Regions from separate parts of the Homo sapiens genome. Here regions 1, 3, 4, 5, 6 and 7 are each linked to region 2. Evidence: promoter capture Hi-C in 16 types of primary human blood cells and fetal thymus (Javierre and others, 2016). All regions are on one chromosome and are shown on one strand. Each heading gives the region's core, a stretch centred on a gene start or on the middle of the fragment in contact. The rest is flanking DNA. Distances are from core to core; before and after follow the strand shown.

Region 1 (3,123 bases), core at 410-2,909, 440 kb before region 2:
CCATCCAATCTGAGGCCAGGCATTGTCCTGAATCTTGAGAAAGTTCATAAGGATCCTAGCTAAGAGCAAGCCAGAGAAGATGCTGGCCACCTGGGTGCTCTGAAAGCCTGAAGGGTCCTGGTGGGATGGGGGCTGCACACAGCTGGAAGTGGCTGAGGAACACTTGCTGGGGGTCCAAGCCTGTACAATGTGACTTGAGGAAGTCTTGGCCCCTGTCTGGGCCTCTGGTCTCAGCTGTATAAAGAGGTGGATTGTACAATCACTGGTCCTCAAGCCAGGCTAAGCAGCACAATACTTGGAAAGCTGACGACAACAACAACAAAATGCAGTCTAGATGCCACAGCCCTAAAGATTTCAATTCCATTGGTCTAAGTAGGCTTCCATATCTGTACTTGTATAAAAAGCCTCATTGGTGGTTTGAATCTATAGCCAGGTACAGTGAGTTGAATGGTTACCCTCCTCCGGAAAAAAAAAAAAAAGTACCATGTCCTAATCCCCAGAACCTGTGACTATTACCTTATATGGAAAAAGGATCTTTGCAGATGTGAAGGATCTTGATATGAAGAAGATCATCCCAAATTATCTGGTGGGCTCTAAATCCAGTGCCAATGTCCTTATAAATGTAAGGCAGAATGAGATTTAGCACAGAGAGGGAGGAGAAGGAGGCACTGTGATCAGAGAGGCAGAGATTGGAGCAATTTGGCCACAAATCGAAGAATGTCTACAGCTCCGGAGCTGGAAGAGGCAAAAAATGGATTGTCCCCTACAGCCTCCAGAGGGAGGGCAGCACTGCCAACACCTTGATTCTGGACTTCTTGTCTCCAGAAATGTAAAACAATAAATTTCTGTTGTTTTCAGTCACTCAGTCACGTGCCCTGGGCTTTATGAATCAGATATGCCCAGGGAAGAGTGTAGTTTAGAAGTGGACCAGGAGGAAGGGGGCTGCCCAGAACCCACCTTTTGGCCCAAGCAGCCCTGGAGACCTGCAGCTTTGTGGGTGTCAGAGCCTGAGGTTCTGGTGCTGCTGAGAGCTCAGCATCATTCGTGAAAGCCGTAGAGTCTATGCCAAGGTGGGGTCTTCAAAGGTGTGATCTCACTGCGTGGTTTGGGCACTTTTTCTGGCTGGCTACCTTTAAGCTGGACTCTTTGGCTATCCTGGAGATTCCTTTGAAAGGAAAGGGAATTCTAAATGTAAACGCCACCTCACAGACACTTGTTAAGTGTCTCTTCTCCTCCTCCCTCCTGCCTCTCTCCTCTGCCACGTCTGTCAAACTCCTCAGGGCAGTGCATCATTCTAAGCATTGTGGGACCCGTGAACAGGGATATATTGGATCTAAGTTCCCACAAAATGGCACTGATTGTTTGAAGATGCTTAGAGTCCCTGCTCCTCTGTGGGAAGGGGTGAGACTCTCCAGGATTGCTGAAGGCTGCCAAGGTAGAGTCAGGGAAGGTGCAGATATTCCTTCAGCTCCTCTCCTCTCACCTGCCCTGTTCTAGAGTTTAAATTTCAGTAAGAATAAGTAGGGGAATTTTCACTGGCTCATGTGTGAACTTGAATGTAAAAATCGACTGCAGGCTGGGCACGGAGGCTCACGCCTGTAATCCCAGCACTTTGGGAGGCTGAGGCAGGTGGATCACTTGAAGTCAGGAGTTCGAGACCAGCCTGGCCAACATGGTGAAACCCCATCTCTACTAAAAATGCAAAAATTAGCCAGGCATAGTGGCAGGCGCCTGTAGTCCCAGCTACTTGGGAGGCTGAGGCAGGAGAATTGCTTGAACCGGAAGGCGGAGTTTGCAGTGAGCCGAGCCAAGATGGCGCCACTGTACTCCAGCCTGGGCGACAGAGAGACTCCGTCTCAAAAAAAAAAAAAGAAAAAAAAAAAAAACAGATTGCATTTATTTCCAAGCTGACTGCCCTGTTGTTTCCCTAGACACCTCTTTGGAAAGGTTTGTGCTTTGCAGCAAGCTCACTTGTTCTGAAGGACCTTCAATGCAATGGCAAAGTGGTTATGGATAATCCAAAAACAAATGAGCAAAAAGGGTAGGAGGAGAAACAAAGAGCAGCATTAGCAAAGGAGAGGTGAAAGACATCTGGTGTTAGTCCTCCTTACCCAAACTCCACAAACGGCCATTGTCTGTACAAGTCATCTGGCCATGAACCCCTGACCAGTGGGGGTAGTGTGGGGGGGTGGCAGTGGTGGTGGTAGAGGGAGCAGGGACTCAGACAGACCTGAGTTCAGGGACCAACTCTGGCTTCTGCATCAGATATGAAATCCAGGCCATTTAGGCAGATTCTCCTTCCTCTCTGAGCCTCGATTTTAAAATTTCTTATATTTTATGTATACCCAGTCTGCCTTGTATTGTTATTATTTGCAGTCATTGTGTTCTAAAAAGCCTCCGGGAACACTGCACTGGCAGATACTGAACCACTGCTCAAAGGGGAAATAACAGGGTTAGGTTCCAGTGAGCCTCTGGTTACAATTCTGTCAATAATAAAACCTAATAATGTGTGCGTTTCTGTTTAAAGACATCTTATTTAATATTATTGCTGATTCATTGACATTGAACTCACCTGTTTAAAGATAGCTTATTTAATATTACTGCTGATTCATCGACACTGAACTCATGGCCAGCAGCACTGTAACTGACGCCTGAACGAAGCGTTTCTACCACAGCTGTTTTCTCTGTAAGGAGCATCACAGCCTCCCTGGGCTTACTTCAGTGCTATGCTGGGGGACCATTTGAAACAGTGAAATACCAAACAAAAAAGCACAAAAATGTGAAAAATGTGGTACCGAGTAGACCACAAAAGGACACTTGTTTATAGTGTGAGAGCTGAAACAAGGAGGCAGAGTGTCGCCTTGTTTGACCTCAGCTGGGAATGTGCACATTGGGTGGCTGCAATTTTTTGCCATTCTGCTCACAGCAAAAGTGCTGCATGTATTGATTTGGGGGTTAAAAATTAATCTTAATGAGTAGGCAGATTTGCAAATATAGAAATTATGATTAATGTAAACTGTATATAAATATAAATATATATTCAGTTGACTTTTGAACAACACAGATTTGAACTGTGCGGGAAACTTAAACAGATTTTCTTCCACCTCTGTTACCTCTGAGACA
Region 2 (2,734 bases), core at 220-2,719:
GAAAGATATACATGCCATATTTACCTATATGTAGTTTGTTTTCAAGTTTCTGGTCCTAGCTCGAACCTTCTTCGATTCTGAAATGTGTGCTGTCTACAAAGGAATCTTGTATCTCCCCTCGGCGCAGCGCCCCCCGCCCCCGCCACACACACACAAATTGGGACAGGTCAAACATATAAAACGGTATTTGTGATTCAAGCGGACCACATGGGGACCACTCTATCTGCATTGTTTCACTCAAATATTTTCTCCTGTCCAAAAATTCATTTCTGAAAGAGACTGCGTTCACTCAGCAGCAACCTTTGGGACTAGGGGTCTTTAACTCTGATAAATTTTGTTTTCATCAAGAAATTTACACTTAAATTTATCATTTCCAGGAAGAAATTGCTCTCCTTCATACAGTCACCCAGGCTTTCGGCACACCATTTCATGACAAATGTGTCCGAGGAGACCAAAGCAAATCCCCTAGCGAGGGACTGACTAATAAGTCCTGTTGATTGATTTCGAAATGTTTAATTTGGGAGATGTGGGCGGAGGGCATCTACAACCATCAAAAAGTGAAAGTGCTAGTTGAGAGTTCCATTTCTGACCCGGTGCCGGGGAGGAGGAATGATTTGCAATAGTCAGACCCGCTCAGCTGTTCAACACGTGTGTGTTTGTTTTACACACAGAGTAGTTTCTGCTGCAGCGCGCGTGTGCATGATGGATGTGCACTTCGCTGGGTTATAACGTGTCCAGTTAAGAAACCCACGCCGTACGTGTAAAGAAATCAAACCTTATCCCCGGAACCATCTGCATCCCTGTGTGAAACACGCACCCAGTAAATGATGCGGGGAGGGGGGATTAGCCTGGGCGCAGAGGACCGGAGCAACGTAAACAGCTTTAGAACCTATGCAAGAGGAAAGTGCAGCTGCACCTCAGGGCGTCTTCGGGCTGGTGCCAGACGCCTTCTGCACCGGCTGCCAGGTCACTGGAGCTGGTCAGAAGCTGGCTGGCGGAGCCTTCCCTTTCGGAAGAGCTGTCCTCTCCCTTACCCCCCTCGCCCTGGCTCCGTGCCTCGGGGCAGCCTCGGAGGCGCGCCAGCAGCACTCCTCCAACTCTACTCCACCCGAGCCTGACAGCTGGGCGGTCCCGCCTGACCCGTGGGCAGGCCGCTGCACCCTCCCGCAGACGCACGCCCTGGCGAGCGGTTCCGCTGCAAAAAGAGAAGCCCCCAGGCCGGGGCCGGCCGTGCGGCGGAGTTTCCATTGTGCGGCCGTGCGACTGGCCGAGGAACGCGCGCGCGCGCGCGCGCACACGAACACACACACCCTCCCTCGCACACGCGGAACCGGCTGGGCCAGGGGAGGGAGGAGGAGGGTGACGTAGCGTCCCATGGCGTCACATTGACGTCTCGCATTCCAGGCACTCTATGGAGAGGCCGCTAGGGCTCCTGTGGCATAAATGACGTGCCGAGAGAGCGAGCGAACGCGCAGCCGGGAGAGCGGAGTCTCCTGCCTCCCGCCCCCCACCCCTCCAGCTCCTGCTCCTCCTCCGCTCCCCATACACAGACGCGCTCACACCCGCTCCCTCACTCGCACACACAGACACAAGCGCGCACACAGGCTCCGCACACACACTTCGCTCTCCCGCGCGCTCACACCCCTCTTGCCCTGAGCCCTTGCCGGTGCAGCGCGGCGCCGCAGCTGGACGCCCCTCCCGGGCTCACTTTGCAACGCTGACGGTGCCGGCAGTGGCCGTGGAGGTGGGAACAGCGGCGGCATCCTCCCCCCTGGTCACAGCCCAAGCCAGGACGCCCGCGGAACCTCTCGGCTGTGCTCTCCCATGAGTCGGGATCGCAGCATCCCCCACCAGCCGCTCACCGCCTCCGGGAGCCGCTGGGCTTGTACACCGCAGCCCTTCCGGGACAGCAGCTGTGACTCCCCCCCAGTGCAGATTTCGGGACAGCTCTCTAGAAACTCGCTCTAAAGACGGAACCGCCACAGCACTCAAGTACGTATGAGATTCGCCCAGTTAATAAGGGGACTTGCTAAAAAAGTTGGCTTGCTGGGAAGCGTCGCTCCTGAAATTGACAACTTTGAGTGTGGGGTTCCCTCCCCTGACCTTGCCGCCCGGCTCCGGCTTTGCTAGCCCAGCGGCCCGTAGGTTCTGATCTGAAACTTTTCCCCTGTAGTGGGCCCGCGGGGATCTCTGGAGCTCGTGGGATTCCTCCCCCCACTCGAAGAGGCGAAAAGCCTCTAACAAAGAGGAGGACCGGGATTTGTGCTATAGCGGCTCCAGCGATGTAATTCAGGGTATTTCGGCTCTAGTTGTCATGGTAATGATGCTCTCGGCGGCGGCGGCGGCGGCGGCAGCGGCAGCGGCAGGGAGTTGCAGCTCCGGTGATGAACGGCAGTAATTTTCCTGCCTTTTAAGTAGGATTGAAAATAGGAGCTCTGGTGGGTCCAAGTAAATGTTGCTAATGGTGGCACCGAGCTGGTTCTCTGGAAGGAAGCTTAGGAGGGAAGGGCCTAGGCAGCGACGGCCAGAGTTTGCAGACGCACTCGGAGGACCTCAGGAAAGAGGGCGTAATTGTAGGAATGTGGCTTATTGTATTGAAATGAGCCTGGGGTTCCACTAGGCACGTCTGCCTGTCGTCGCTGACATGCCGGTTTACACTTTTCCCTTAGGAGGTAAATCGGGTGTAATTGGCGACTCCCGCACACTGACACGTGTGGGGACGGTGTCCCTCTCC
Region 3 (3,144 bases), core at 466-2,965, 480 kb before region 2:
CACTTTACCAGCTTAGGCCTTAGTTGCAATCTCTTTAAAATGCAGGGGTTAGAATCTCTAACAGCCTTTCTAGTTCAAAAGTCTTGTGATCTTTGATATAGTTGGGAAGTACTATTCAGTCATATTCACACACCCAGTGATAGACCTGGAGCCGTGGTGATGCCTTTGGCTATCCTAACTTGTGTAGCTGACTTGCCCATGCTAAGGGCTCACCCTAGGAAGAAGGCCTGTGGGCCTGGGAGAGAGGCAGGTTTTACTCCCATACTCAAAAGCACTGCAGGAGAGAGTGTTTCCTAACTTCAAATTGCTCAAAGACATGAAGCTCAGGGTCAGCCTCACCTCTCGATTTGCAGCTTCATGGAAGACCTATTCGAAGTAAAATATTAAAACATTTTTGTTTTTAACACGTAATCACCAAACAGTGTAATCAAATACTCTTCTGGTCTTTTCCTCTCTCTATAAGAATCCTTAATATCTTTGTGCATAAAATGGGGGTAATTGCTTGTGGGATTATTGGAAAGACTGAATGAGATAAGGTATAAAATGTACCGCTCAAGGATTTTGTGAATAGGAGCTTCTTCGTAGAAGCTATTGCCAGTAAATCCCATGCTCTTATACCTCCTGTTTTGTTTACATCAGCAACAGGTCATGACTATCCTCCCTCATATTCCTCAGGGTCCTGAAAGTATCTTTTTGTTGTTGTTGTTTGTTTGTTTGTTTGTTTGTTAGAGATGGAGTCTCGCTCTGTCACCAGGTTGGAGTGCAGTGGCGCGATCTCGCTCATTGCAACCTCCAACTCCCTGGTTCAAGTGATTCTCCTGCCTCGGCTTCCTGAGTAGCTGGGGTTACAGGCAGGTGCCACCATGCCCGGCTAATTTTTGTAATTTTAGTAGAGACGGGGTTTCACTATGTTGGCCAGGATGGTCTCGATCTCCTGACCTCATGATCCACCCACCTTGGCCTCCCAAAGTGCTAGGATTACAGGCGTGAGCCACCGCGCCTGGCCCAAAGTATCTTTTTTTGCGAAACCAGATTTCTCAGCCACGAGCACAATGAGTCCAGGGGATCATCAACCCAGTGATCCATTTCTTTGGAACTCTACTTGCATGATTTTCCATATTTAATGACATTCCACCAGCAGGATAAACATACACGCAAGGTTGAATCATCTTTCCTTTCCCCTTGGATCAGGAACCCAAGAAAACAGATGCAGGAAGCAGGTGGGAACGCTGGTGAGCAGGATGTTGCTTCTGCCATGCTTCTACTGCTCAGCGGCCCCAGCGGGGATGTGGTGGGAGGAATGAGGGGGCTCTTCAGCTATCTGGGGGCTCATCTCAATAATATACAGCAGGTCTTCAGACAAGGGACACAGTATGGGCTGCCTAAAATAGCTCTCCCAGAAGCTTTCAATCAAGGCCAGAAAGCAGCAGTTTCCACAGCAGCAGTCGAGAGGGTTTTGGGAGAGCCACACCACACTGCTGTTTTGTTTAGAGCAGGGGTGTTCAATCTTTTGGCTTTCCTGGACCACAATGGATGAGGAATTGTCTTGGGCCACACATAAAATACACTAGCACTAACGATAGCTGATGAGCTTAAAACAAATACATTGCAGAAAAATCTCATAATGTTTTAAGAACGTTTACAAATGTGTGCTGGGCTGTATTCAAAGTCATCCTAGGGGCTGGGCGCGGTGGCTGACGCCTGTAATCCCAGCACTTTGGGAGGCTGAGACAGGCGGATCACGAGGTCAGGAGATCGAGACCATCCTGGCTAATACGGTGAAACCCCATCTCTACTAAAAATACAAAAAAAAATTATCCGGGCGTAGTGGCGGGCGCCTGTAGTCCCAGCTACTCGGGAGGCTGAGGCAGGAGAATGGCGTGAACCCGGGAGGCGGAGCTTGCTGTGAGCGGAGATCGCGCCACTTGCACTTCAGCCTGGGCGACTGAGAGAGACTCTGTCTCAAAAAAAAAAGAAAAGAAAAAAAGTCATCCTAGGCTGCATGTGGCCTGTAGGCTGTGGACTAGACAAGCTTGGTTTAGAGATTCAGGACACATGGACAATGAGGGAAATTCTATAGGAACCTATACAATTTGGCTGCCAAGGGAGAGAACTAACACACATCTGGCAAGTGTATTCTGGCTAGAGGAGGAGAAGGGGTCCCCAGAGAATATCTCTTTGAGCACTTTTAGGGGATAGAAGGGTTTCCAGATCGGATGAAAGAAATGACAAAAAAGAAAATTAAAGATGAGGAGACCTCCAAAGAGATAAACAGAAATCAAAGTGTGGAGAGGGGCAAGTGGAAGAACATGACATTTAAAAATGTATATACAGATACCCTCACCTTATTTCATAGCAGGCCTTGAAGACATTTATAGAAGCATACACAATACAGAAGGATAATACATAAATGAAAGGATTTGGGTTTCAAAAGGCTTTTGAAACTTCTGGCTAAAGATGGCAGCATAAAGGCATTTGTAATTCTTGTCTCTCCTTAGAAACACACTGAAAACAAACATGAATAAAACAGAGGGAAAGAAAACTCTTCCTATTTAGTGGAACAAGGAAAAGGCCACAGCCCCAAACCACAAACTATGAACCACACCGTGAAATCTGGAGAAAAATGAGAGAGGAATAGGGATCACCTCAGGGCTTGAGCAGGGAAGATTTCTCTAAATGTGAGTGCTTCCATCCCGAAAGGAGCCTTTGATTAGAATGACCCGCTCTAAGGCTGGATGGGCCACTGGATAGATAGGAATGTCCCTGTGGAGGACCAACGCGTCCTAGAGAACATCTGGGAAGTTGGAGCTAAAGGTGAAATCCACCATTTCCATTTTCCGAGATCAACTCCTGGTTAAGAGCAATGGCTAGAGTCGAGATGGGTGATCAAGGCTTGGGAAGCAGAATTTGCTATTTGCCAGTGAGCCTGTAATTTAAAAGGACTTGCTGTGAACACCATGGACCAAACATTGCAGGAAAATAAGCATCCAGTGTAAAGGAAATAATGGCTTTGATGAAACAGGGTCAGAGACAAGAAACCTAACCCAAAGTTTCAGACTCTTCCAGCTCACTTCTGCTCATCTCCACATGAATCTTCAATAAACAGCTAATGGCATCCAAAGCCAATAAGAAACACAGAAGAAC
Region 4 (3,123 bases), core at 530-3,029, 510 kb after region 2:
AATATTATGCTAAGTGAAACAAGCCAGACACAAAAGGCCCCATGTTATGTAATTCCAAAATATCCATGATAGGCAAATCCATATAGACAGAAAGTAGATGAGTGATTTCCAGGGGCTGGGGGAAGAAAGGAATAAGGATGAACTTCCAATCAGTACAAGTTTCTTTCTGGGGTGATAAAAATGTTTTAGAATTAGACAGTGGTGATAGTTGCACAACCTTAGGAATATATTTTTTAAAATTCATTGAACTGTACATTGTAAAATGGTGAATTTTATAGTATGTGAATTATATTTCAATAATTATATGCATACATACATCCCAGTTATGTTTTAATAATTTTGCTTAAAATATTAGTTAAGTCAGTCCTAGATGAACAAAGAATATATGAAAGTCATACGAGATATTCACTATGATTAAATAAGTAATAAAGATATGTCTTGCCATCAGAGCTTCAAAGGAATTTTTAAGTATCAGATTAGTTTTGAATTTATGAATAGCAAGTGGTTTGAAAGACAATTTAAGAATGCAATAAGCATCAACAATCATTAACCTTCTATATTCTAATAAATATTGAAAATGAATTTACTGTATGATGTTTTGTTCTGGCAATTTAACCATGGTATTACTAATTCAGACTAAGGGAAAGGCAAAATTACAGAGCTCCCCTTAAAAACTTCTTTTGTATATCAGGGTGGATCAATGACTACCCATACCATTAAACAAATGAACTCTTACCATAAATTCGGAGGGCAGTAGCTTGTAAACTTTTTAGTAATTCTTTATTTGCTCGTGCTGCAGCGGTATGAATGATATCGATAAGCTGTGTAGAGAGCTCAGGATTTCGGGAGCCAAGATGAGCAAGTTGCAATGGTAAGCCAGCCAGCCAACGGGATAACACTTTACTACGATATCTTAGAAAGGCCAAAGAAGAATAAAATGTAATACTCAAAGACAAGGGAAATAAATTTAAACAAAAAAAAAATTTTTTTTTAACTTAAATATATCACAAAGTGACTAATTATGTATCAATAATACCACATTTATTCATTTAAACATTTGAGAACCTACAAGATGCCAGCATCATTTTCCAAGGCTTTACCCACTAAATTAATGTTAACTGGGGCAGTATCTAAATTGTATTTTTATTTTGAAGGATAGAGACACTTAACTATTTATCCTAATCGGTGTTATTATACTATATTAACAAATGTACACATTCACCATAAGTTGCTCCCATACAAAATAGCTTCAAACTTGTGCTATTTTTATTTCTTTAGAATACTTGCTGGAGTGTAAATGTCTTGAATAACAGTGAACATTTTCACTAGGTCCCCTGAAAGGCTGGTGATTCTATCATGGACTTTGCTGTCAAGATAGACCTGAACTTAAGTCTCAGCTCTGCTATACATTAGCTACATAATACTCACCAATTTATTTATTTTCTGCTTCCTTCTGTAAAATGGAAGCTAACAGTATCCACCTCACAGTAGCAGTATGAAGATTATTGAGATTATGTAAAGTAACTTGGCTTAAAGTAAATACCAGAATACGTTACAACAACTACCTATATATGTTGAGGTATCCCAAATCTGTATCTTCCTCTCAAACATTTCTGACTATGCCAAATAAACCTCAAACTCACCTTATTGAAAAATTCCTTAGTCCACTCTTTTGTTGTCTCTCTCTGATAGCACTAAACTAAGCCAGAAACTTTCTCATCTTCTATTGCCCTCACTCTTATCCCATATGCCTCAATATGTCACTAATGGCTAGAGATTCAACCTCCGTAATTTTTATGGGAGGGGAAGAGAAAGGGCTGAGGTTGTTCCAACTGTCCCTTAGCTATAAGTGGACAGGTAGAAATGCATGCCTAAGCAGTCTTTTATCTGTTCAGATATGGGTATAAAGTTTACTGGCACTATTACGTATGCATCTTTTAAAATTTTATACCATTTCTTAAATGCAAACAAGTAGGATTAAAAAGAATGAACTTCTCCAAAGATTTAATCTCTCTAAAATTATTTAAATACTTAGACTACAGAAAAACTCAGCAAGAGAAAAAAGAAAGGAAAAATAACAAGATTTTACCTGAATCTACAAGATCTCAGTTCTTCTGTCTGATAGATTTTACTGAAAAACTTCAATAACAAAGTCCGAACTGGAAGGATAAGGCCCCTCTGCTGATATAATGTATAAACTGCCTTAATAAGAGTCTCTGTGTCCTCTACAAACAGAAAGAAAACAACTTGCATATGAATCAAAAAATGTTTAACAGCCCCCAAATTCCTCTGAATGCACCGAAGTACTTTACTTTCTTCCTATGGCAAAGCCAATTTTAGCCACAAATAGACAACTACCATTGAAGTCCTATAGCAATAGCCTAATAAAAAAGTCAAACCAATCAGTAGTTACAGTATAAATTTTCTTAACAACAAACCTAGGAATGACAAAAACCAGAATATTAGAAAGGCAATTTAGATGGGAACCAAATAGGAAAACTTTGTTTTAAAATCAAAGAATTAGTAAGTCACTCTAAAACTGACTTAATATAACTTAACCTTAAGCTAGAAAAAAGGTAAAGAGACAGGGAAGATTCATGCCATATCAATCAAGGGAAAAAGTTCTCAAGTTCTAGCCAAACTAGATCAGAAGAGGGTAGAAATCTTTATCAATCTGCTTCAGAGTGGACCTACCCACTTAGAGATACTCTGAGCCATAAACAATTTCAGTGTTCAAGTAGACAGTAGCTACCTTTTATGGCTTGAATACAATTAGCCTGACTACATGGAATGTTTACAAGCCATCATTTCAAAGCTAGACCTTAAGATAGCACATGTAAGAGCTCCACTCTTAAATAAGGGCAAAGTAGCATCACCTACCTCTGTTTGGCTGTATTTGCATTAACCTCCAGGATACTCCCAGCAATCTGTTCAGTTGCTTACTATTTAGCCTAGAGCCATCTTCAAGGGTCTCTGTTACAAATTTCCTTATCATTTCTATCCAACTGCAATCCTTCTGCAAAGTTGACGCATTTGCCAGGGAGACCATGATATCAGACAGTGTTAAATTCAGTAAGAGATGATCTATGTTATTGGAGAGAACTGTGCAATGCTTGATGCTAG
Region 5 (2,928 bases), core at 244-2,743, 500 kb before region 2:
CTAGCATTACCTTGTTTATTTTGTTGTTGGTAAACTGGTAAATCTATAACTAATAAATAACAGGAACATACGAAGGATGCCTCAGAAGCTCCCTCTTCCTCTCTACTAAAGGTACAGGAATGGTTATTATAGTTTAAAAGGCAGTTTTACATAGTCATTGAACCCTTACAACTTGGCATATTTACTGTTATATGGAGAAGATTGGAATTCAGTTAAGTGGCTTCTCCAAGGTCACTCAACTGGCAATTAAGAGGGAGATGCGGACTCCAACCAAGGCTTGTCTGGTATTGCAGCCTCTACTACTTCTGTCACGGCACAGTAATAAATGTGAAATTCTATGGGGATAAGTTCCCTTTCTGTCAATATCATGTCCAAGATGTTTGGACATGTCCTTCTCCCTCCTTCTTTTCACCTTTGTCTCTGCCAGAGTTTCTTTAGGATGCAGTGCCCAAGGCTTGTGATTAAAAACAGCTGCAGAAGCAGGAGCAAAACATTACCTAAAAATAAGTAGCACCTCAGAACACAATGTGCATGGACTTCTGGGAGGTGGACAGAGTTGGTGGGGTGTGTGACATAGAGCTGCCGCAGGGAAAGCTTTGGTTCTCCACAACAGGCATCTCTTTCTGTGGTTGGCTATTCCTGGGAGTCTCAATGAACTTGATCTCAGAATCCAGGGCAAAAAAAATGGACTCACTCTTCTGCTAAGGAATGAGAAAACTTCCTTTAAGAGTTCATTATCCAATTGGTTCAAACGTATTTAATAAAATGGAAGAACTCTCATCGAAAATATTAGGTAAAAAAAATGATGCAAAATAGCCTAATCAAAATTTAATTAATATTTTTATACACACACAGTTTGCAAAAAGATTGAAAGAATACACCTCAGTGTTAACAGGAGGTATTTCTGTATGATGAGCACAGGGTTGAAATTTATTTATGTTTAAATTCTTTTCTGTCATTTTTAATTTTTGTAAAATAAACACATACTACTTTTGGAATTAGAAAAACATGTTAAGAAAAAAAAGTAGAGGTTAGTTTGCCCTGAATTAATTTAATTTTAAAATAGACTTTGCTTGTTTTCAAATTATAGCTTTGTCAAGAGATACAAAAATTAAATGAGCTACATGTTCTGTAACAAATAATAAATTTATATTTGTGTTATAAATTATATAATGCGCTATCAGACTAAAATTGAAAGCTACCATACAGATTATTCATATAATATTCAATTTCAAACTTTTAGATTTATTCTGAATTGCCTAATCCACTACAGAGTTCAGATAACATAAATTTTCATTTTGTTTTTGATATTTTGATTTTATTTTTCCTAAAAAAATGACACAAGCAAATAAACTACAAATGCAAACCTGTGTAGCTAAAATTGAAAAGCAAACTAGATCACAAAACATGTATATAAATTTGACAGAAAGTTGAGATTTACATTTTTTAAAGAGTATTTAAAAAGTTATTTATAAGAAAATAATCAAGTCTCTAATAGGTAAATGAGCAAAAGCTATAAGCATATTTTTCTAAAAATATATAACTAATAAAATAACAAATGTATAAATGCATTTATACATTTCATAATCATAATCAATGCAATGCAATATAAGCAACTATTCTAGACCCCAAATCCTGACAAAAATAATTGTGAAACTAGAAAACTCCTCTCCAGTCTTCTTGGAATTACCTTAGTGAGCTTCAAGAGCCAGAGCTGCCACTCTGATTCTTTCTTTTAGTTATTCCAATTATGGAAATCTGCTTTGCAGGTAATTCAACAGAAAAGTTTAAATGAAGAAAAAATTAATTTGAGATGGAGTCTCACTCTGTCACCCAGGCTGGAGTGCAGTGGTGCGATCTCAGCTGATTACAACCTCTGCCTCCTGGGTTCAAGGGATTCTCATGCCTTAGCCTCCTGAGTAGCTGGGATTACCAGTGTGTGCCTCCACACCTGGCTCATTTTTGTAGTTTTAGTAGAGACAGGGTTTCACCATGTTGGCCAGGCTGGTCTTGAACTCCTGACCTCAAGCAATGCATTCCCAAAGTGCTGGGATTACAGGTATGAGCCACGGTGCCCGGTCTAATATTTTCTTAAAGTATAAGGAAAAATGCTTGAAACAACTCAACTGATTCATGGAATAGGAACAGAAGTAAATTTTTGTGTCCCGACTTAATGGAATAATATAAAGCAATGATTACAATGGCAATTATGAAAACAATAGAACTATAGAAAATATTTATCATGCAATATTAAATATTAAAGAATATTCAACTATATTTCTGCTATGACTTTAATAGTAAAATTATTTGCACCTACAATCAGGGATGGAAAAGAAGAAAAAATGAAAGTAGTTAGATCTCAGTGAGGTTGTGAATGAACTTCTCTCCTTCTTTAAGCTTTAAAAAAATTGTTTGAATGTATATATGAATGAAAAGAAAGAAAATTTATATTTCTTCTTATCTCCATAAAGAAAATGTTTCTAAATACGACTCTCTGTGAGATTTGAGTTGATATAATACCTCTTTTAGAAATAAAATGATTAAAAATCACTACAACAGATTAATTAAACAAATATTTATTGAACTTTGTGTTGCTTTCCATTGCTGCTGTAACAATTTCCACAAACAGGGTGGCTTAAAACAACACAAATATATTATCTGATGGTTCTGTAAGTTAGAAGTCAGACACAGGTCTCACTGGGTTAAGATCAAAGTGTTGACAGGGCTGTATTCTTTCTGCAGGCTTTAGAGGAGAATCCATTTTCCCCTCTTTTCCAGTTTCTAGTGGTCACCTGCATTTCTTGGCTCATGGCCTCTTCCTCCATCTTCAAAGCCAGTAATGGTGGGTTGAGTCCTTCTCCACATTGCATCACTTTGCCCCTCTCTTCTGCCTCTTCTTCCACTTTTAAGGACTCATATGATTAGATT
Region 6 (3,016 bases), core at 209-2,708, 420 kb before region 2:
GGAGAAAGGATGGATGGATTTCTAGATTACCAAAAAAATTCTCCAGAAGCACAAAAGGGGGTTGAAGTGACCCTTGTGAGACTAAGACATACTAAGTTTGTTCAGTCATTAATTCCACAAATATTTACTAAGCACCTATTATGTGTTCAGCTCTAGGCAATAACAGAAAATAAGACACAGTCTCCTTCTCAAGGAACTCATAATTTAGAGACAAGTTAATAGAAAATTAGAATTTGCTGTGGTAATTAGAAGTACTAGATGCTTTGAGGCTATAAGCACCTAAAGTAGCCCTGCAGGATGAGAAAGGCCCCACAGTCTGAGCTCAGTTCTCAAGGATGAGGAAGGGGGAGTCTGGGGAATGGGGAAGGGTTGTGGGTGTCGGGTGGGGGAAGAATGATTCAGGAAGAGGGAACTGCAAATGAATGGATTGGAGGGAGAGAAGGAACAGCCTGGAATTCAATTCACAGCTCCTTCAGCTGTGATGGGATCCTGGGAAGTGAGGGTGGCCATCATTCAGGGCCTCACTGCTGGCGACGAAGTGTCCATATGCCACTTTGGGTATATGGAGGAGGCAGGGTAGAACCAGAGGGTGCCCTGGGGCACTGGGGTGGCCTTTCTGGAAAGTCACCATCAGAAGCCCTGAAGAAGCCCTGGAAAGCCACACCACCTCCTCTCCTGGCAAAATGTGGTGTCGTCTTAGTCCAGGAAGGTGGGGCAGAGGATTGAGGACATTCTAGGGGTCTGTTGCAAGAGAAGACAGCATCCAACTCTAAGAGGCAACAGAGGTAAGAGCAAGTTGGCAGGGTTAGCTGGCAGAGACGTGGGGTGATGAGATCCACTGTGAGGAGGGAGCTGTGAAAGATGCCCAGCCTGCTTGGAACATGGGCCCCATAGTAGCCAAAAGACTGGAAAATATTGTGGTAAAACAAGCCAGACAAGTCAGACAGGCTGATTTAATTCCTCCCCATTCCAATGTTAGAACTTCATTATTACCAACCAGGAAGACTGGCTGGCAGGTACCCCAGGGATAAGCCTGGAATCTTCAGATTTTGGGGATGTTATCTAAGAGCTCTCAGTAGCAAAAGGAGGGGAATTTGGGGCACAGAGTCTTTACAGATCTCTTATGTTTGAATAATATATTAAGAGTCTACCACTTTATGTCTGCCACTGCATAGATACTCACCCCAGACCTGCGAGGTCTGCTGGGTAGGGGTGTGGTAACATCCCTAGTTCATAGATAAAAATGGTAAGGTTCAGAGGGGTCACCCAGCTCTAGGAGGAAAAACCAGGGCTCAAATACTATGGCTTGCTTCCCATGATCCTTGCCATCTCCTATGCTTCATCACCTATGTGCTTCCATGCTGCAGATTTCGAGGTTTGCAAAGGTTTAGAAACCATTCATTCTACATGTGATCCCATGGGAAGGTGCTCATCATATATTGCCATGTGAAAAAGGCAGGCTGCAAACTGAATTGCAATACTGTTGCATTTTTGTGAAAGAAAAGTATGCCCATACACACTCTTCACATGACCATCGGACAACTTCTGAATGAACAAACACCAAAATAATGGCTATGTTTTTTTCTGGGAAACGGACTTTCCAGGAAATTTAAAAAAATTCTTCCTTACCTGCATTTTCTTTTTTTATTCTTTTTTTCTCTTCTTTCTTTCTCTTTCTTTCTTTCTTTCTTTCTTTCTTTCTTTCTTTCTTTCTTTCTTTCTCTCTCTCTCTCTCTCTCTCTTTCTTTCTTTCTTTGTCTCTCTCTCTCTCTCTTTCTTTCTTTTTTAGATGGAGTCTCACTCTGTCACCAGGCTGGAGTGCTGTGGTGCGATCTCAGCCCACTGCAACCTCCGACTCCCTGGTTCAAGTGATTCTGCTGCCTCCCTGAGTAGCTGGAATTACAGGCATGCACCACCAGGCCCAGCTAATTTATGTATTTTTTTTTAGTAGAGATGGGGTTTCACCATGTTGGCCAAGATGGTCTCAATCTCCTGACCTCGTGATCCGCCAGCCTTGGCCTGCCAAAGTGCTAGGATTACAGGTGTGAGCCACCGCGCCTGGCCCCTTACCTGCATTTTCAATGAATTAATATAAATTACTTTATTTAATTAATAATTATACATGGACATAAATTACTGCTTTATACTTAATATATTAATTGTTATTAATTAATGTGTTACTTCTTTTTCTGTATATGTTTTATTTTTTATTGACATAGTTGTACATATTTATGGGGTAGGGGTGATATTTTGATAAGTGTACACAATGTTTAATGATGAAATCAAGGTAATCAGGGTATCCATCACCTCAAACATTTATCTTTTCTTGTGTTGGGAATGTTCCAATTCTCGTAGCTATTTAGAAATATGCAATAAATTATTGTTAACTATAAAGCTGTGGTCTCCCTATTGTACTGTTGAAATTAGAACTTACTCCTTCTAACTGTATTTTTGTACCCATCAACAAACTTCTCCTCATCCCCTTCTTCCCCTACCCTTCCCAGCCACTGGTAACCATCATTCTACTCTCTACCTCCTTGAGATCCACTTTTTTAGCTCCCACACATGAGTGAGAACATAAGATATTTGTCTTTCTGTGCCTGGCTGCTTTCACTTAACATAACGTTCTCCAGTTCCATCCACATTGCTGCAAATGACAGGATTTCATACATTTTTATGACTGAATAGTATCTCATTGTGTATTTAAACCACATTTATTTATTCATTCATCCATTGGTGGACACTTAGGTTGATTCCATATCTTGGCTATTGTGAATAGTGCTGCAATAAACATGGGCATGCAGATATCACTTCAACATACTGATTTCCTTTCTTTCGGATATATACCCAGCAGTGGGATTGCTATATCATATGGTAGTTCTATTTTTAGTTTTTTGAGGAACCAAATTATTTCTTAATAAGGAGGATAGTGAAGAGCTGAGGAGTGGAGGAGATTTCACAGCTTATAGTGACAGCTTCTGAAAAGAAACACTATCCATGAGGGCCAATGTGTTCT
Region 7 (2,859 bases), core at 240-2,739, 460 kb before region 2:
GAATAGTCTGGGTGAGAAGAGGCGGCAACCCGAACTAGAAGGACGGTGGTGGGGACAGTGAGGAGGGAGCAGGTTGTACATGCCTGTCCCATCTGCCTGGCACTCATGAGCCCCATGAGAAGCAGGACAGATGTATTTTTAGAAATCCCCTCATACAGAGTAGCCACTCGACACTGTGTGGCTGCCTCACTGCCACAGAGTCCCAGGGACCAATGCCGAGCCCCCACAGGGGTCAAGCTTCTGGGCTGTGAGCTCACAACCCCCTACCGCCCTGCTGAGCAGGCAAGAATCATGCTCAGGTGATGAACAAGCACAAGGCAAGAGGACCCAGATGACCCTGGAGAGCATCCCACTGGAAAACGCAAGCACGTGGCTCATGGAGAAATGGGTGCTGTTGCCCTGCACCCCCAAAAAGAGATTCTTACTCCCTAGGATCAGAGGCATGGCATGGCTCCAAGCCAGGGTAGCCCCTGTACAGTTTAAAGGTGCCAGGGTTGGAAAGGACCCCTCTTCTGCCCTCACCCCGCCCAGTGCTTGAGCTCCCTTTGACATTCTTTTCAACACGGGCTCAGCTTTCATGCCTCCTTTTCCCTTTACTCCATAATCAGCACCCTAGACTTAGCCACCACTATCTCTCGCCTGCTCTGTCTTGCCACCTTCTTTCTCCGTCTGCTCCTGCTCCCTCTTATCCTCTTATCTGTCTCACCCTGCAGCCGGGAGTCGTTGCTCGCCATAGATGTAGCTTGTGACAAAGTGGCTGGACCCTGCCAGAGAAGGAGCAATGTTATTGGAGAGGGACGGAGCCAGAGCAGCAGGAGAGAGCCGCTGGGCCATGCCGGTGGGAGGAGGAGCCACGGAAAGGACAGTGCCCCGGGAGCCACCAGCAGCAAGGGTAAGATGTTTAATGGAGGGACAGGGCAGGCAGTGCTTGGATGGCACAGGTAGGTCTGGTACCAGGCAGGATTTTATTGTTTGATGAAGATTCATTGCCCTTGATTCTTCTCCTTGGGCTTGTACTTAATGATGGTGAGAGATGAGGAGGATGAAGGGGAGGTGCATACTCTTTTTCCTGAATGACAAAGCTGGGAGCTGGCGATGGCTTTGGGAATATGGGAAGTCAGTTTTCAGAAAGCTATTGGAGTAAAAGATTGTCATGTTATAAACTTCTAAACCACAGATGAACAGGCTTGAACAAACTGTTAGAACACCTAGTGTTGATTATTGAGAGTGTTTCTGCAGTGTGTGACTTGGCATGGTTCATTCGTGCTGTCCCTGAGAACAGTGACATTTCAGATTAGCAGTATTTTGGGGTTCCACTTGAAAAGAGCCCACCCCTCAGCTGACTGGTGCTGTCCTCTGCTGGGTGATTTAATGGTCAGGCATGCTTGGTGGAGAGGAAGCAGCATCACGGCAAGGCACCTGTACCCATCTGCCAGTTTGGATGAAGTGCCAAATCACAGGGTCAGTAATGCTTCTTGGCCAGAAAACATGAGCTGAGCAGCTGTCCCTGCCTGCTATCCATGAGAGGTCCTCTTACCAATTCAGCCTCAGGGAGGGAGAGAGTCCCCTGTAGTCAGACGGGTATGTGAGTGTCACAGCTAGGGGCAGAGGGAGACCAGGGAACCTGCCCTTAGCCACTCACACAGATATGAATCCAGGAAGCTGAAAGGGAGCTCTTTCAGGCCAGGATGGAGGATACTCCCAGCATCCCCTATGGTCAGATGCATGGGTCCTTGGAGCACTCAGGGACCAGCCTAGGAGAAGAGATGGGAGCTGAACGTGTTATAGTTAAATAATTCCTAGATTGCAGAACATCTCCCAGCTTCATTTTTCTGTTTTGTAAAATGAATATAAATGAGATGAAGGATGCAAAATGCCCATAAACTGAATGGCATTATTTGAGTCTAAGTCATTATTTGCCCTGAAATTTTTGCATTTAACATTTTTGTCAACAATTTGGAGGCAGATACTGGATGCAGGCTTATCAAACATGTACAGAAAATAAAGCTGGGAGGGCTAGCTGAAACACAGCTATAGAGGACTCCAGATTGCAGAATCTGAAAGCTCAACTCTCCCCTGGCTTCCTTCCCCTGGATGCCTTCTCTGTGTGACCCTCAGAAAGCACAGTGCCCCTAACAGAACTCCATTTTTTCGTGGTGTGGCTGCTGCTTCTCTGTAGTGGGCAGAGAGGCCAGGGATACTCCTAAACACCCTACCATGCTCAGGGTTTCTCTGTCTCAGCAGTATTGACGTTGTGGACCAGATCATGGTGTTGTGGGAGCTGTCCACACGGTAGTATGGTAGGATGTTTAGCAGCATTCCTGGCCTCTGCGCTATAGATGTTAGTAGCACTGCTGCTCCTCTCTTTGTGACAAACAAGTGTCCCTGGGGTACAAAACTGTCCCTGGTTAAAACCTCTGCTCTAGATTCATCCTTTGCACTTCCCTGCCTGCATGGTAGCTCCTCTGGTCACGTCAAAGTTCTCATAGTTCCTTAAATAAACAAAACTTTTCCACATCTTTCCCAGAACTTTGCATGCACAGATCCCTTCCCACTCCTGCCTTTGCCACTTCATAAAATCCTGTGTATCCTTGAAAACTCATCCGAAGCATCCCTTCCTTGCAGACGCCACCCCAGATGCTCCCGGACAGCTAGTGCACTCACAGCAAAGTTCTCCTGGAGCCCTGAGTGCATGGATTTAATTTTTCTTTTTGCTTGTGATGGTCTCTCCCACTGGACTATAAGCTTCTTGAGGGTAAGTCCTGGATCTTTCTCACCTTTGCTCCCCAGTGCCTGGGAAGTATGGCCTAGCACAGAGTGGGTGCTTAGTGAATCCACCTTGAGTAACATTGTTTAATG

Evidence for each region. The method cuts DNA at HindIII sites, captures the fragments that hold promoters and counts their contacts. A CHiCAGO score of 5 or more calls a contact.
Region 1: a contact is called between a fragment that was not itself captured here and the fragment with the promoter of NR4A3 in region 2, in 3 of 17 cell types (M0 macrophages, M2 macrophages and M1 macrophages). The highest score is 7.0, in M0 macrophages.
Region 3: a fragment that was not itself captured here is called in contact with the fragment with the promoter of NR4A3 in region 2 in 1 of 17 cell types (M0 macrophages); the score reaches 7.0 in M0 macrophages.
Region 4: a contact is called between a fragment that was not itself captured here and the fragment with the promoter of NR4A3 in region 2, in 3 of 17 cell types (fetal thymus, erythroblasts and total CD4 T cells). The highest score is 6.2, in fetal thymus.
Region 5: a contact is called between a fragment that was not itself captured here and the fragment with the promoter of NR4A3 in region 2, in 2 of 17 cell types (M0 macrophages and M1 macrophages). The highest score is 7.4, in M0 macrophages.
Region 6: a fragment that was not itself captured here is called in contact with the fragment with the promoter of NR4A3 in region 2 in 2 of 17 cell types (M0 macrophages and M2 macrophages); the score reaches 6.0 in M0 macrophages.
Region 7: a fragment that was not itself captured here is called in contact with the fragment with the promoter of NR4A3 in region 2 in 3 of 17 cell types (M0 macrophages, M2 macrophages and M1 macrophages); the score reaches 10.0 in M0 macrophages.

The regions. Positions count from the first base shown.
Region 1 is chr9:99,375,884-99,379,006 of GRCh38, forward strand. No RefSeq gene overlaps it. Among named protein-coding and RNA genes, the nearest start is that of NAMA, 2.2 kb to the left of the region's middle. The HindIII fragment of the contact is 7,833 bases long and covers 1-3,123 here.
Region 2 is chr9:99,820,416-99,823,149 of GRCh38, forward strand. NR4A3 (nuclear receptor subfamily 4 group A member 3) reads left to right here and starts at 1,470. Exons shown (of 8, transcript NM_006981.4): 1 at 1,470-1,992. RefSeq lists a silencer at 1,564-1,613 and an enhancer at 2,188-2,700. The HindIII fragment of the contact is 5,731 bases long and covers 1-2,492 here.
Region 3 is chr9:99,339,291-99,342,434 of GRCh38, forward strand. No RefSeq gene overlaps it. Among named protein-coding and RNA genes, the nearest start is that of NAMA, 34 kb to the right of the region's middle. The HindIII fragment of the contact is 629 bases long and covers 1,402-2,030 here.
Region 4 is chr9:100,327,051-100,330,173 of GRCh38, forward strand. TEX10 (testis expressed 10) reads right to left here. Exons shown (of 15, transcript NM_017746.4): 6 at 2,881-3,119; 7 at 2,090-2,225; 8 at 737-912. Among named protein-coding and RNA genes, the nearest start is that of TEX10, 24 kb to the right of the region's middle. The HindIII fragment of the contact is 5,792 bases long and covers 1-3,123 here.
Region 5 is chr9:99,318,726-99,321,653 of GRCh38, forward strand. LOC124902231 (a long non-coding RNA gene) reads left to right here. Exons shown (of 2, transcript XR_007061691.1): 2 at 1-74. Among named protein-coding and RNA genes, the nearest start is that of NAMA, 55 kb to the right of the region's middle. The HindIII fragment of the contact is 1,803 bases long and covers 593-2,395 here.
Region 6 is chr9:99,402,645-99,405,660 of GRCh38, forward strand. The region is part of intron 2 of LOC107987011 (a long non-coding RNA gene); the gene reads right to left. Among named protein-coding and RNA genes, the nearest start is that of NAMA, 29 kb to the left of the region's middle. The HindIII fragment of the contact is 6,505 bases long and covers 1-3,016 here.
Region 7 is chr9:99,358,746-99,361,604 of GRCh38, forward strand. All of the region lies in intron 5 of NAMA (non-protein coding RNA, associated with MAP kinase pathway and growth arrest), which reads right to left. LOC124902232 (a long non-coding RNA gene) reads left to right here and starts at 587. Exons shown (of 3, transcript XR_007061692.1): 1 at 587-892; 2 at 2,626-2,755. The HindIII fragment of the contact is 2,508 bases long and covers 236-2,743 here.